Linked DNA regions of Homo sapiens: regions 2 and 3 are each linked to region 1. The links are contacts of gene promoters, found by promoter capture Hi-C in human tissues and cell types (Jung and others, 2019). All regions are on one chromosome and are shown on one strand. Each heading gives the region's core, a stretch centred on a gene start or on the middle of the fragment in contact. The rest is flanking DNA. Distances are from core to core; before and after follow the strand shown. Region 1 holds the start of C17orf58 (chromosome 17 open reading frame 58). Region 2 holds the start of BPTF (bromodomain PHD finger transcription factor). Region 3 overlaps BPTF (bromodomain PHD finger transcription factor).

The links. Contacts are between HindIII fragments. The study calls those that stand out against the background at their distance.
Region 2: a contact is called between the fragment with the promoter of BPTF here and the fragment with the promoter of C17orf58 in region 1, in 1 of the 25 tissues and cell types used here (hippocampus).
Region 3: a contact is called between a fragment that was not itself captured here and the fragment with the promoter of C17orf58 in region 1, in 2 of the 25 tissues and cell types used here (H1 embryonic stem cells and lymphoblastoid cells).

Annotation. Positions count from the first base shown.
Region 1 is chr17:67,994,473-67,999,394 of GRCh38, reverse strand. It overlaps C17orf58 (chromosome 17 open reading frame 58), which reads left to right and starts at 2,926. Exons shown (of 4, transcript NM_001382359.1): 1 at 2,926-3,272. The coding sequence starts at 3,197. RefSeq lists a silencer at 3,607-3,696. The HindIII fragment of the contact is 9,773 bases long and covers 2,721-4,922 here.
Region 2 is chr17:67,822,123-67,827,044 of GRCh38, reverse strand. It overlaps BPTF (bromodomain PHD finger transcription factor), which reads right to left and starts at 1,542. Exons shown (of 28, transcript NM_182641.4): 1 at 708-1,542. The coding sequence starts at 1,320. RefSeq lists enhancers at 669-938, 901-1,596, 1,597-2,294 and silencers at 989-1,188, 1,369-1,418, 1,619-1,688. The HindIII fragment of the contact is 39,315 bases long and covers 1-4,922 here.
Region 3 is chr17:67,849,706-67,854,627 of GRCh38, reverse strand. BPTF (bromodomain PHD finger transcription factor) reads right to left here. Exons shown (of 28, transcript NM_182641.4): 2 at 1-688. Among named protein-coding and RNA genes, the nearest start is that of BPTF, 27 kb to the right of the region's middle. The HindIII fragment of the contact is 3,560 bases long and covers 1,100-4,659 here.

The DNA of each region.
Region 1 (4,922 bases), core at 1,677-4,176:
TTTCTGATTTGATTTCTCATTGTAAATTAATAAACTGGCATTCTGGCTACATAGATCAGTCTCTTTGAACTCTTTGTACCTTCCACCATTAGTGTGGTTTCTTTTTTTTCTTCTTCTTCTTTTTTGAGACGAAGTCTCGCTCTTGTCCCCTAGGCTGGAGTGCGATGGTGCGATCTCGGCTCACTGCAACCTCCGCCTCCCGGGTTCAAGCGATTCTCCTGCCTCAGCCTACCAAGTAGCTGGGATTACAGGCACCTGCCACCATGCCTGGCTATTTTTGTATTTTTAGTAGAGACAGGGTTTCACCATGTTGGTCAGGCTGGTCTCAAACTCCTGACCTCAGGTGATCCGCCCACCTCAGCCTCCCAAAGGGCTGAGATTACAGGCGTGAGCCACCGCGCCTGGCCCATTAGTGTGATTTCTAAGGCTCAAGCCAGACACTGCCCAAGACCCAGGACTGGACTCTGGCAGGTTCTTCCAGCTGGTGCCACCCCAGGAGCCTCTGGGAGCCCCTGGGAGCCATCCAGCCTGCTCCCTGCCTCTACATTTCAGGGTGTGGGTTTCAGGGCATTCACAACATTCCTGCAACAGAAGAGTTTCGGGAACACCCCCAATAGGTTCTGGGTGATTTGAATGTAATGGTAAGAAGGTATGTTAGAGATGTGGTTGTAACTGAGAAATCTTAAGCCTAGTGAATTTTATTCCACTTGACTTAAAGAAAGAGCACGTGAAAGAAGGGGATCTGAGGACATCTATAAACAGGGCCCCAAGGGCATGAATTTACTAGTGTTTATCTGGTCTTGTCTAGGGTCTGGAGACCCTGACTCTGGTATACCCAAGCTTTGCAGGGGCTGTAGAGGTTTACTCTTTTGGATGGAGAATATAATTCACTCCTCTAACACCTGAATGAGGGAAGATTAGCTCATCTCCTTAGCTGCAATTTGATTTAATGCTCAACAGGCAAATTTCTTTTCTTTTTTTTCTTTTTCTTTTTCTTTTTTTTTTTTTTTTTTTGAGACAGAGTCCTGTGCTGTTGCCCAGGCTGGAGTGTAGTGGCGCAGTCTTGGCTCACTGCAACTTCTGCCTCCTGGGTTCAAGCGATTCTCCTCCCTCAGCCTCCCAAGTAGCTGGGATTACAGGTGCCCGCCACCATGACTCGCTAATTTTTGTATTTTTAGTAGATATGGGGTTTTACTATGTTGGCCAGGCTGGTCTCGAACTCCTGACCTCGTGATCTGCCCACCTTGGCCTCCCAGAGTGTTGGGATTACAGGTTGAGCCACCGCACCCAGCCAGCAAATTTATTTTCTTTGATTTAATGCTCAACAGGCAAACTTCTTTCCTCCTCCTCCTCCTCTTCCTCCTCTCCTTCTTTTTTTTTTTTTTTTTTTTTTTTGAGACAGAGTCTCACTCTGTCACCCAGGCTGGAGGGCAGGGCAGTGGCGCCACACTGCAAGCTCCGCCTCCCAGGTTCACGCCAGTCTCCTGCCTCAGCCTCCTGAGTAGCTGGGACTACAGGCGCCCGCCACCACGCCCGGCTAATTTTTTGTATTTTCAGTAGAGACGGGGTTTCACTGTGTCAGCCAGGATGGTCTGGATCTCCTGGCCTCGTGATCGACCCACCTTGTCCTCCCAAAGTGCTGGGATTACAGGCGTGAGCCACCACACCTGGCCCTGCTCTCCTTCTTCTTCTTCTTCGTTCTCCTCCTCCTCCTCTTTTTTTTTTTCTTTTTGAGACAAAAGTCTCACTCTATCACCCAGGCTGGAGTGCAATGGCATAGTCTCAGCTCACTGCAACCTTTGCCTCCCAGGTTCAAGCGATTCTCCTGCCTCAGCCTCCTGAGTAGCTGGGACTACAGGTGTGTGCCACCACACCCTGCTAACTTTTTTGTAATTTTAGTAGAGACAGGGTTGCACTAATTTGGCCAGGCTGGTCTTGAACTCCTGACCTCGTGATCCGCCTGCCTTGGCCTCCCAAAATGCTGGGATTACAGGCGTGAGCCACTGTGCCTGGCTCCTCCTCTTTCTTTTCTTTCTTCTTCTTCTTCTTCTTCTTTTTTTTTTTTTTTTTTTTTTGAGACAGGGCCTCTCTCTGTCACCCAGGCTGGAGTGCAGTGGCACAATCTCGGCTCACTGCAACCTCCACCTCCTAGGCTCAAGTGATCCTCCCACCTCAGCCTCCCAAGTGGCTGGGACCACAGATGCGAGCCACCATGCCTGGCTAATTTTTGTATTTTTTGTAGAGACAGGTTCTCTCCATGTTGCTCAGGCTGGTCTTGAACTCCTGAGCTCAAGAGATCCTCCTGTCTCGGGCTCCCAAAGTACTGGGATTACAGGCATGAACCACCCTGCCTGGCCTCAACAGGCAACATTCTGATTAATAATTAGACCTCTGGGCCCGGCGTGGTGGCTCATGCTGTAATCCCAGCACTTTGGGAGGCCAAGGTGGGTGGATCACTTGAGGTCAGGAGTTTGAGACCAGCCTGGCCAACACGGTGAAATCCCGTCTCTGCTAAAAATACAAAAATTAGCCTCGCATGGTGGCATATGCCTGTAATCCCAGCTACTTGAGAGGCTGAGGCACGAGAATCGCTTTAGTCCGGGAGGCAGAGGTTACAATGAGCTGTGATATATAATGAAACAGTTTTACTAAGGAAGCAGTGACTTGGTTTCTCTAGAAATTGCCTAACACACACATTCCAGGATACATTCTCTGTCATCTGGAATCTCCCTTCCACAAACCCACGCTGTCTTAAGCACTATTTTCCTATTTGTTGTTGACCTAATCTAGAAAAAAGCTCCCGTCACTCGTTCTCCCCCACCCAGTCCCTCAGTCCCGAAACACGCTTATTCTCTGCACTTGTCACCCCACCCTTTGCTGCCCCCACCCCAGCGCGCAAACGCACACAGGTTTAAAGTTTAGGCTGTGATGCTCTCCTCGCCCGCAGATCACAGGACAGACATTCCCGGGGACAACTTTGCAAGGCCATGTGCTCGTCCTCCTTAGGAAGGAAGAGGGAGAAATCCCTGCGGCTCGGTTTTGTTCCAATGGTCTGCTCAGCGAGTGATTCCCGTTTCCCCAAAGGCTGCCCCTCATTAGCATGAACGGGGGTGGGGGTGTGGAGAAGGGGTTGGGGGAGAGAAAGCAAGCAAAAGACCAGGCTCACTTTTAGAGCCTGGGAACCCTGTCTGCAAAAATGACAGCTAGAGCTTTCTGGCTCCTCTGTTTGATCGTCGGATCATCCCCCGAAGCACCGGTGGCGGAGAGAAAAAGTAAGATTGGTGTAGTGCGGGGCCCTGGGAGCGGAGCGGGGATCTGTGGGGGGGAGCTGGGAAGGAGGCTCAGTGAAACGTGGGACGAGGAGGGGGGTCAGAGCTCGCAAGAGAGGACACCCCGGGTCTGCGTTCGTCTTATAAAGGAGCAAAGTGTGTCCCCAAGGTTTCGTGTCTCTTGGCAGCCTTTTCGGAAAGAAGCCAATTTAGCTACTGAAATGATCCCGAGCAAGCCGGGCAGGCTGGGGAAAACTTTGCATGTTAAGTAGTTGCTCCATCACGGAGGAGGGAAAGTGTCAAAAGGGGTCGTGGCGCGCCTTTCGGGAGCCGTGCCCGGGCCGGGCTCGCAGGACGCCGCGGGGTCCGCCCCCCTCGACTGGGTGAGCAGGGGCTGCGGGGGGCGCTGTGGAGGGCTGGGGGGAAGCGGGGCCGAAATCCGGCAGCCCCGGGCACTTTGCTCTCCCCGCAGCCCCAGCGCACAACCTTGGGACACCTGAGCCGGGGTTTAACTAACACGCACACACTCTTATACTTCATGCACGAAATGAAATTAAGTTACTCAGCCCGTGAAGAAATGAGGGGTTCTCTGGGGGATCGTGTTTTTGTTTTGCTTTTATTTGGATGTTCTGTCGGCTTCGCTATCTCTGGGAAAAACAGTTTCCGTACCTCACAGGGCAATTTACTCTGGGTTATTTTTCCACATGGAAATTGAATGACTTCAGTGGCATTTAACCCAAATATCAGACAATCTTTCCCATGACAACAGATGGTTATATCAATGGGGAAGCAGTTGTGAGGTCAACAGTTGACAGTCAGGAATTGGATATCCACCAGAACTTTATTCAGCTGTGCATGGCACAACCGTTTAACAACATAATGAGTCAGAATCAACCTCTTTGCAAAAACATGAACTCTAACCAGCTATTATTGCTGGGTGAAAGCTGATTTTAAAGCAGATTATCGATTTGGCAAGACTGATCAACTTTAAATGAAGTGTTGCCAGAGCTGCAAATGGGCAGATCCATCTCTTTAATGCAAGGGGAGAGAAAAATAAAGGCTAGTTCTTGCCTGTTTGGAGGGCACTGGGACCCAGGCAAGCAAGGAGGTGAAATTGTGTAACTGGTATGGAAAGGTGCCCAGCTCCCAAGCTGGCTGAGGTTTACTCACCAACCTGTCTGCAGAACTAGGGAAAATCATTAATAATTTTAAAAATTTGTTTTCATGCCATACCATTTAGGAGTCTTTCCTCCATCATCTAATGGGGAAAAAAATGTAAGCGACGTGTGCTTTTATACTTAACCAGGGGCCTCTCTGCCTCCCAGCCAAGCTTTTAAAACCTTCCTTAGCTGTGGTTTACCAGTAAGTGGTGTCCAAGAAGCCAGATAAAAATCCACTTACAAATGCTCGATTCTGCAGAGACCGGGATGACAGTGTAAACATGGATGGGAAAACCAAATAGTTCTGTTGTCAGGGGCGCTTAAAGAATTAGGAGAACCTGTAATATGAGACCTTTCCCCCTGGGGTTTGCTCTTGGTACTTTCTCAACAAACTGTAAATAGCAAAGAGGCGGATGTTTATATATGTTTTATATATATATATATATATACACACACACACACACACACACACGCACACGCACACATACACACA
Region 2 (4,922 bases), core at 293-2,792, 170 kb after region 1:
AATTTGGTTGGGTCTTGTTTGGCTTTCTGCGTTGCTTTTTAATCAGCCATTTAACAGCAACTGTTGCACGGGCCCATTAGCACTCGAAGAATAAAAACAAACACACAGGACCAGATAAGGTTCCCCTACTAACCCAAATGATCCGTTTCCTTAACACAATTTTAAAACCACAGCTAGGGGTGTGAAAACGCATTTTTTTGTGCGTGTTTGTGTACCACAATCTGTCCAAATCCTTAATTCCCTTTTAAGTAACAGATATATAATAAAAATCCGAAAGAAACCACATTAGAAATGCAAAGAGGTTTGCAAAACAAGAGGCTTCTTTCATTCCAGAAAACCACACCAAAACAAGGGGAGAAAAATGAATGCAATGGATATGTGTTTGCCAAAGTTTCAATCCTGCCCGGTGGAGACACTGCACTGGCACAAATTTTGAAGAGGAAAAAAAGGGGGTTGGGGGGGGGAGAGAGAGCGAGCGAGTGTGGCCTGCAAACTGCAACAATGCAATCTCCATTTTGAACAATGCGCCTCTTTCCTCTTGTAAATCTAGTTTTTTGCCACTTGATGTGCCGTCGCATTTCCCCTCTGTTTGGGGGGGAGGCGGGGTTGGGGGGAGATCGGAGCAGGATGCACAGCACACGAGTGAGCAAGGGGGGAGGGCAGAGGAGGTGGGGAAGGAGTCTGCAGCAACTGGGCTGGGTGGGTACCTGGAGTGCTGCTGTAGGTACTATGGCTCCTGAAGCTGCTTTCCGTGCAGTAACTGGCGTCGTCGTCGTCGTCTTCCATCTCCTCCGGATAATCGGAGTCATCGTCGTCCTCTTCCATCTCATCCTCCTCGTCGTCCTCAGAATCCTGGGTCTCCTCGGCGTCGCCGTCCTCCTCCTCCTCCTCCTCGGAGACCATGTCCTCCTCTTCCTCCTCCTCCTCGCTCTCGTGGTCATCGTACACCACTTTGTTGACGGCCCTCCGGGCCGCGGTGGTCCGGGCCAGGTGGCCGCCGCCGCCCCCGCCCCCCGTCCTGCCGCCCCCGCCTCCTCGCCCCCCCCGGCCCGGGGCGCTGGTGCTGGGGGGGGCCGGCGGCGGCGGCGGCGGCTTCCTCCGGCTACTGCTGCCCCCCCTGGGCGAGCTCAGCCGCGTCTTGGGCGCCACCTCAGCCTGGGCGGCGGCCCACCTGCCCCGGCTGCTGCCGCGGTGCCGCGAGCGGAGCCCCCCGATGGGTCCGGACGTGGGCGGCGGCGGCGGTGGCGGCGGGGCCGGGGCGCAGCGCTCCGCAGCGGGAGCCGCGGGCTGCTTGGGCGGCCTGCCCCGCCGGCCCCTCATGTCGGAGCCGAGGCGGGGGGAGAAGGAAAGCGAAGGGGGAGGGGCGGGCGCAGGGGGGGCGGTGGGGAGCGCCGGGGCCGGGTGGGGAGGCCCGCGGGGCCGGGCGGGAGGGGCCCGGCCGACGGAAGCGGGTGGAGGGAGAAGGCTCAATCCGAATTGCTGGGGCCCCACTCCGGATCGCCTTCAGCCGCCATCTTGTTTCTTCCCTCTCGCTCGGTGACTGGGGGAACCGACAGCGGCCGCAGGCCCAGAGCGCGGTCACGTGAGCTGCGCCGCCGACGAGCCTGGGACGGAGCGAAGCGGCGCGGCGGCCGCTAGGGGGAGCGCGGGAGCGTCGAGTCGGGGGCGGGGAGCCCTGGGCGCCTGGGCTCGGCACAGCGCGGTGCGGCTGGACTCCGGGCGCGGGTGGCGCGGCAAAACTCCGGGCGCAGGTGGCGCGGCTGAGAGGGGCGCGCAGCTCGCGAAATGCCCGGCGTCAAAGGCCTTCGGAGACCAAAGTCTCCGCGGACCGCTGGCTGGAGCCCAAAGCCGGCCGGACCTCCTCCCCGCGTCTCCCCTTTCGCGGCTCGGAGAGGAAGGCAAGGGAGCCCCCAAATATCATTCCCTTCCCTCCCCCTATGGAAACTGATGCTGAAAGAGCCAGCGAGAGAAAGAAAAAAAAAAGTCGCGGAGAGGGGCGGCCCAAGCGACCGAGGGCACCGGGCAGCGCCAGCGACAGAGGGAAATTAGTCGAGGGGACAGAGAGACAAGCCCCCTGAACTTAGGAAACTCTGAAGCATGGAGCTGGAGTCCAGAAAATGACTCCAATGACAACTGCTCCGGATCTGTGCCAGGAGCCACGCCCCGGGCTGCCACGCCCGGAGGGAGGGGCGCCCTAAGACCTGTAGCGTGGAATCCGCACTGGGAAAGCCTCAGTAAACTCCAGAACGCAACTACTGCACGTTCCAATGTCCCGCCACCTTCCCAGTGCCCCAGCTAGGACTTCGATCACCTCAGCAAGAACTTACCTCTCCTTTGCAGTGGAAAAGAGGGAATCCTGCCTAAAACCTACTTCACGGTGTTAAATGTTTGTATTATCGGGAAATAACCTTAATTTATTGACCTGACAAGTCACTAGGTTTCAGCTTAGCCCAAAGGACGAATCATGATGACATTTCAGGCACCCTCAAACCTTATCACAGCGACTCAACCCTGAGTGGTTGAGGTCAGCTCTTTAGATAAGAGAAAGGTGTTATAAACATATGAATATTTATTGAGAGAAGTGACAACCGAAAAGTAATTTAAAGAAAAATAGTTGGCCGGGCGTGGTAGCTCACACCTGCAATCCCAGTCCTTTGAGAGGCCAAGGCCGGATGATAGCTTGAGGTCAAGAGTTCAAGACCAGCCTGGGCAACATAGCAGGACCTCGTCTTTAGAAAAAATTTGAAAAATTAGCCGGGCATGGTGGTGTGCACCTGTGGTCCCAGCTAGCGAGAGGCTGAGGTGGGAGGATTGCTTGAGCCTGGGAGGTGGATGTTGCAGTGAGCCGTGATTGCACCACTGCACTCCAGCTTGGGTGACAGAGCAAGACCCTGTCTCAATTTTTTTTAAAAAAGATGCTGGGCGCGGTGGCTCACGCCTGTAATCCCAGCACTTTGGGAGGCTGAGGAGGGCGGATCACCAGGGCAGGAGTTTGAGACCAGCCTGGCCAATATGGTGAAACCCCATCTCTACTAAAAATGCAAAAGTTCTGTACTAAAAATACAAAAGTTAGCCAGGCGTGGTGGTGCGTGCCTGTAGTCCCAGCTACTCCAGAGGCTGAGGCAGAAGAATCGCTTGAGCCTGGGAGGTGGAGGTTGCAGTGAGCCGAGATCGCACCACTGCACTCCAGCCTGGCAACAAAGCAAGACTCCGTCTCAAAAAAATAAAAATAAAAATATCTAACAGAATTCTGCATACCAAATGGCTTATTTCAGTCTTGTTAGGAAAATGGAACACATATGTGAAATGAAAATTAAAATACAAGCACTAATTGCCAGAGAAATGCATTCAATACAATTTGGTCGAGCTCTAAGGGTGACAAATGTGTATATGTCTCCAGGGACCAGGTAAGTAATGTAAGTCAATAAAGTAGGCAAGATGAAGACCTAGGCCAATGGAGGTGCCCATATTTTGTTTGAAGAGGGTGGTCAGGCACGGTGGCTCAGGCCTGTAATCCCAGCACTTGAGGAGGCCAGGTGGGCGGATCACTTGAGCCCAGGAGTTCGAGATTATCCTGGGCAACATGGTGAAATCCTGTCTACTAAAAATACAAAAATTAGCTGGGCATGGTGGCTCATGCGTGTAATCCCAACTACTTGGGAAGCGGACAGGAGAATCGCTTAAACCCAGGAGGCAGAGGCTGCAGTGAGCCAAGATCGTGCCACTGGACTCCAGTCTGGGTGACACAGCAAGACTCTATCTCAAAAAAAAAAAAAAGGTAGTGAGGAACTGAGAATTTTATTTGGAGACACAAAAATTGAAACCTTAAATATGCATATCCCAGCGATCTTGGTTCACTGCAAACTCCTAAGCTCAAGCAATCCACCCGCCTCCCTCCCAAAGTGCTGGGATTACAAGCTACAGCCACTGTGCCCAGCCACCCTCTTTAAACAAAATACGGGGCCAGGGCCGGGCGTGGTGGCTCATGCCTGTAATCCCAGCACTTTGGGAGGCAAAGGCAGGCAGATCACTTGAGGGCGGAAGTTCGAGACCAGCCTGGTCAACATGGTGAAACCCTGTCTCTACTAAAAACTAGCCAGGTGTGATGGAGCACCGGTAGTCCCAGCTATTTGTAAGACTGAGGCAGGAGAATCGCTTAACCTGGGAGGTGGAGGTTGTAGTGAGTGCAGATCACACCACTGCACTCCAGCCTGGGCAACAGAGCGAAAGTCTGTCTAAAAAAAAAAAAGCGGGGGGCACTTCCATTGGCCAAGTCCTCATCTTCCCCTACTTTGTTGACTTTCATTACTTACCTGGTTCCTGGAGGCATATACAGATTTGTCACCCATAGTGCTCAACCAAATTATATTGAATACATTTATTTGGCAATTAGTGCTTGTATTTTTTCATTTCACATATGTGTTATATTTTCCTATCTAGATTGAAATAAGCCACCAGGCGCAGTGGCTCATGCCTGTAATCCCAGCACTTTGGAAGGATGAGGCGGGCGGATCACCTGAGGTCAGGGGTTCGAGATCAGCCTGACCAACATGGTACAACCCCATCTCTACTAAAAATACAAAAATTAGCTGGACGTGGTGGCACTTGCCTGTAATCCCAGCTACTCTGGAGGCTGAGACAGGAGAATCGCTTGAACCCAGGAGACGGAGGTTGCAGTGAGCCAAGATCGCACCACTGTACTCCAGCCTGGGCGACAAAGTGAGACTCTGTCTCAAAAAAAGAAAAAAGAAATAAGCCATTTGGTGGACAGAATCAGAATCCTGTTAGGTTTCCTTTCTTTTCTTTCTTTCTTTTTAAATTTTGAGACGGGGTTTTGCTCTGTCACCCAGGCTAGAGTGAAGTGATGCAATCGCAGCTCACTGCAACGTCCACCTCCCAGGCTCAAGCAATCCTCTCACCTC
Region 3 (4,922 bases), core at 1,630-4,129, 140 kb after region 1:
CAGACTTCACACTGCCACTCGTCCTCTGGCACCTCCTCAAGAGGTGGCTTCACACATTCCAAATGGTATACTGCTGAACATGTCTCACAGCAAAGCAAATCCCCAAGTTTGTGACAAACCCTACAATGGTCATCATACTGTATCACCCCTTCAGACATCAATTCCTCTCGAGCAATATTTGTTGTAAGAAACTGATCGACTAGAAACTGTAGAACTTTGATCTTGTTCTCTACTGGTCCATATGGGTAGTCCTCTGCCTCTTGGTAAGGAAGAACGTGATGGTACTCCTTATCACTCTCACAGTACACCCGCAGCACCTCTGGCCACGTCATCCCATCTATGAAATACAGTGTGGAATTAACGCTATCTTTCAGATCAGCAGGTCCAAAGGTAGTATTGGAAGTGTCTTCTTCACGCAGAACTGCTTTCAAAAGCACAACATGCATCTCTGCCATGAGTGTGCACTGCTCTTGGCTCACCAGAGCTGCACAAAAGTCCTCAAAGCGAAAAGGAGATAATCTCAAAACAGTGCCAAAGTTCCGCAGTACCTCGTAAATGGCAATGACATTCATTATATGCTCATTAGGCACCATTAAATCCTCAGAGGACTTGGGAAATTCAAGGGGCGGGATGTCTTTTTCTTCCAATATAGGAGAACGAGGCCGATGTACTCTTGGTTTTCGCCTACCTGTAGATAAAGACGTGACATCATTACAAATCAATACATTACATCATTTCTACAAATTTCCTATTTGAACATATACCCCCCTAAAATACATAAGTACATTTCTTTAATAATTGTCAAGTTAAAATAATACGAAGAAGCAATGATTCAGCTCTAATTTTTAAATCTATAGAAAATCTAAATGCAAAGTTTTCCCATTAGATTATAAACCAGAAGTAAAAAAATTATAAATTATAATCAGTTCTCAATTACCTAGAGAGATTAACAGGCTCACAGGTAATCATGATTAAAAAATAACAGTGTCAGAACAAGGATCTCTAAGGAAATAATAATAATAATAATAATAAATAACTGCATTTGTGAATGATTTGACAAGAATATAAATGAGAAAAAACATTTACACATAAGATACACAGCACAAAGTAGGGGCAATAGATCTCACACTGTCAGCTGCAATACAGAAATGCCTGTCAACAACCAGACACGAAGTTCCCAGTGCAGACCTCTTTTTTTGTCAGAAGTACCTCCTAAGTGGAGTTCCACAGCGAAGCATGGGCTCAAGGTGAAGACAGAAAGGAAGGAAGTGCAGAGGAGGAGAAAAGAGAAGAATTCCAATGCTGGGGGAAAAGAAAAGTGGCTTACCTAGGAAACAGACAACAGACTACATTTCTTAACAGTCAGTTAAACAACTTTTTAGATACCTGTTCTCCAATTATGAGATGTGATGTCCAGATATACATATGTAAGTATATAAATGTATCAATATAAATAACTGAGAGTTTTGTTTTTAACAAACGTATCTATCTCATTTAATCACCTACAGCCGTCGCCTAGGCTGGAGTATGGTGGCGTGACCTCGGCTCACTGCGACCTCCGCCTCTCAAGTTCAAGTGAGTCTCCTGCCTCAGCCTCCTGAGTAGCTGGGACTACAGGCAGGCGCCACCACCCCAGCTAATTTTTGTATTTTTTAGTAGAGATGGGGTTTCACCATATTGGCTAGGCTGGTCTCGAACTCCTGACCTCAGGTGGTCCACCCACCTCGGCCTGCCAAAGTGCCAGGATTACAGGCGTGAGCCACCGCACCCGGCCCATTCTGATCTATTTTTGGGAGAGTATAAATTGGTTGGATTTTTAGAAGGTAATTTGGCAAACATCTATCTGAATGTATGTCCCTTTGACCCTGTAATTCCACCTCCTGGAACTTATCCTGTAGTCACACATTCATTTAAGTACAAAATATTTAATTCAATATAGTTTACAAAAGCTGAAATTTTTATGTGGGTTTTCTTTTTAATCTAAATATACATAAATAGTCAAATGAATTATGATGCATCTACAGAATGGAATCAAATTCAGTAGTGGTAAAATTCCTATGTGTTAAAATGAAACAATCTTTAAGATACAGTGTTAAGCAGAAGGAATGAACAGCTACAGAACAATGAATAGAATGTCATTTGAATAAATAAACTAAAAATAAAAAGGAGGGCAAGGGGATAGTGATAAGGTATATATATATCTAAGAGGTCATATAAGAATCTTTTTATAGTACTTGCTTCTGGGGAGAGTCGGGGGACAGGAAAAGAAGACTAATTTCTTTTTACTTTTTTATACTTTAAAAAATAATTCATACATGTATTTTCGTTATAAAATTTTAAAAGAAAAAATTGGACAGGTATCTATAAAAATATAAAAATATTAATACTCAAATCAATAAAATGATGCTGCCACTAATGACTACTCATAGTCTTGTATAAATACAACGTCATTATACTAAATTCAAAGATTCAAGTTTATAGAATTGAACATAGACTACAGTGTTTAAAGAGAGAACGACATTAAATTAAACCACTTAAGCCCCTCAACTGTCAATCATTAGTATTAGCAAGTCAAGTCATTTCACTTCTTCACAGAAGTGTATTTAGAATATGCCACTGAGCATTACACTCATTATCAATTTCAACACTAATCTGGTATCTCTCTACCAGGTGAATTATATTAATTTTCCTGCATTAAAAAAAAAAAAGGACCCCAATCTCACTAGTTAGCAAGGAAAGGCAAAGTAAAACCACAATGAGATAACTGTTCTCAGACTCCTCAATGGAAAAAAATTTAACAGTTTAACCAAACAAACTGTTGGGAAGGATGCAAAACAATGGAAACACCAGTATACCACCACTGGGACTGTAAACTGGTATCACAACTTCAGAGAGAAATTCAGGATTGTCAAGTTTAAGGTTCTGCTTATAACTGAACAGCCTGCACACCTGTTTGCCCACAACCAAAGTAAGAAATATATTTTACATCTTATCCAGTACACATACCCCTGAAAACAAAAGCTCTATAAAACACTATTCTCACTACATGCCTTATACTAATATCTTCTCTCCTACCAACATTTTCTATTCTATTCTCTTTCTACTTTTAAAACATGCTGCTTGCAGCTCACAATTAGAAAAACACTTCTCTAGAGAAACTATCCTTATGCATACGCATGTGGAGGAAAAGTTAAATATTAAATCTGAACTCAATTGAACGTGCACACAAACAATGGTCACCAAGTCTTGGAAAAGGTTGTGTGAGCCCCTTGAGGCGTTCATCCAGCACTGTTTCAGAGAAATCTCTATTTCAGTCTATTCCTATATGGTGGTTATTAAAAAAAAAAAAAAAAAAGCAGAAAATCGCAAAAACAAGTTGACCTTTTTGTGTTCCTTGAGCCCAGTCACGAAGGCCCCTTGTGACTGGACCTCATGCCAAACAACTCGTTACAAAAAGAGCTAGGGTCCCAGACTCTGCCGAAGCTTCATGAGACCTCTCCTTGTCTGTGCACAGATAAGTGGCCGACTCTGGAGCCCAGGCTGTTGCTTCCCAGTCTGGTGATGAATCCTCCATAGTCTGGTGAGTGTAAATATATATACCTCTTTTCCCTTCTCCTCTTTCCATTACAATTTGCTTATTGTATCAATTTGCTTATTATATCATTTGTTTATTATATCTGCATTGCCATTTACATGGGATAAAGCTTGTTTACCCTTAAAGGTATTGTGTGTGTGTCTTTTCTTCTCCCCTAGCATGTTTCCCACACAGAACAATGCAGAGCATTTAATATGTTTATAAAAGCAAAGAAACAATCAACCAAGCTGAAAACAACCAAAATGTCCATCAACAGGAAAACAGTCAAATTGTGGCTTATTCATTGGATAGAATTCTGTAGATCAATTTTGAGTAATTTAGGGCTATGCATATCAACATGGATCAATCTTAAAAACAAAAACACAGGGCCAGGTACAGTGGCTCATGCCCGTAATCCTAGCACTTTGGGAGTCCAAGGTGGGCAGATCACGAGGTCAGGAGTTCCGGACTAGCCTGGCCAATATGGTGAAACCCCGTCTCTAAGAAAAATACAAAAATTAGCTGGGCATGGTGGCACACACCTGTACTCCCAGCTACTTGGGAGGCTGAGGCAGAAGAACCGCTTGAACCCAGGAGACGGAGGTTGCAGTGAGCCGAGATCATGCTACTGCCAGCCTAGGCAACAGAGCGAGACTCTGTCTCAGAAAACAAACAAACAAACAAAAACACCATGAGGCAAAAGAAAAGTTAAGTTTTACAATATAAAACCATGGAAATACAGTTTATATACTACTTACGGATGAATACATACATGAACTAGTAGTTAATATCACCACTAGAATATAATCTCCTTAACGACAGGGATTTTTTAAGTTTGCCAATGTTAAGTAGTGGCTAGCATATAATAAGCTATTAAATAAACATTTATTACAAGAATTAGTAGTTTTGAAAGTGCTAGCCCATGCACTTACACAAGAAAATGATATCCTTGCATTATCTGACAACATTAGAAATGTGTTTTGATTTCTACGTAAGTAAATACAGGACTACAGTGAGAAGCCTTAAAACAGTGGTTCTCAAACTTCAGAGTGCATATGTCACTGATTCAATAGGCCTAGAATAGAGTCTGAGAACCTGAATTTTTTTTTTTCTGAGATGGAGTCTTGCTCTGTTGCCCAGGCTGGAGTGCAGTGGCACGATCTCAGCTCACTGCAACGTCTGTCACCTAGGTTCAAGTGATTCTCCTGCCTCAGCCTCCCGAGTAGCTGGGACTACAGGTGCCCACCACCATGCCCGGCTAATTTTTTTTGTATTTTTAGTATAGAAGGGGTTTCCCCATGTTGGCCAGGCTGGTCTCAAACCCCTCACCTCAAGTGATCCACCCGCC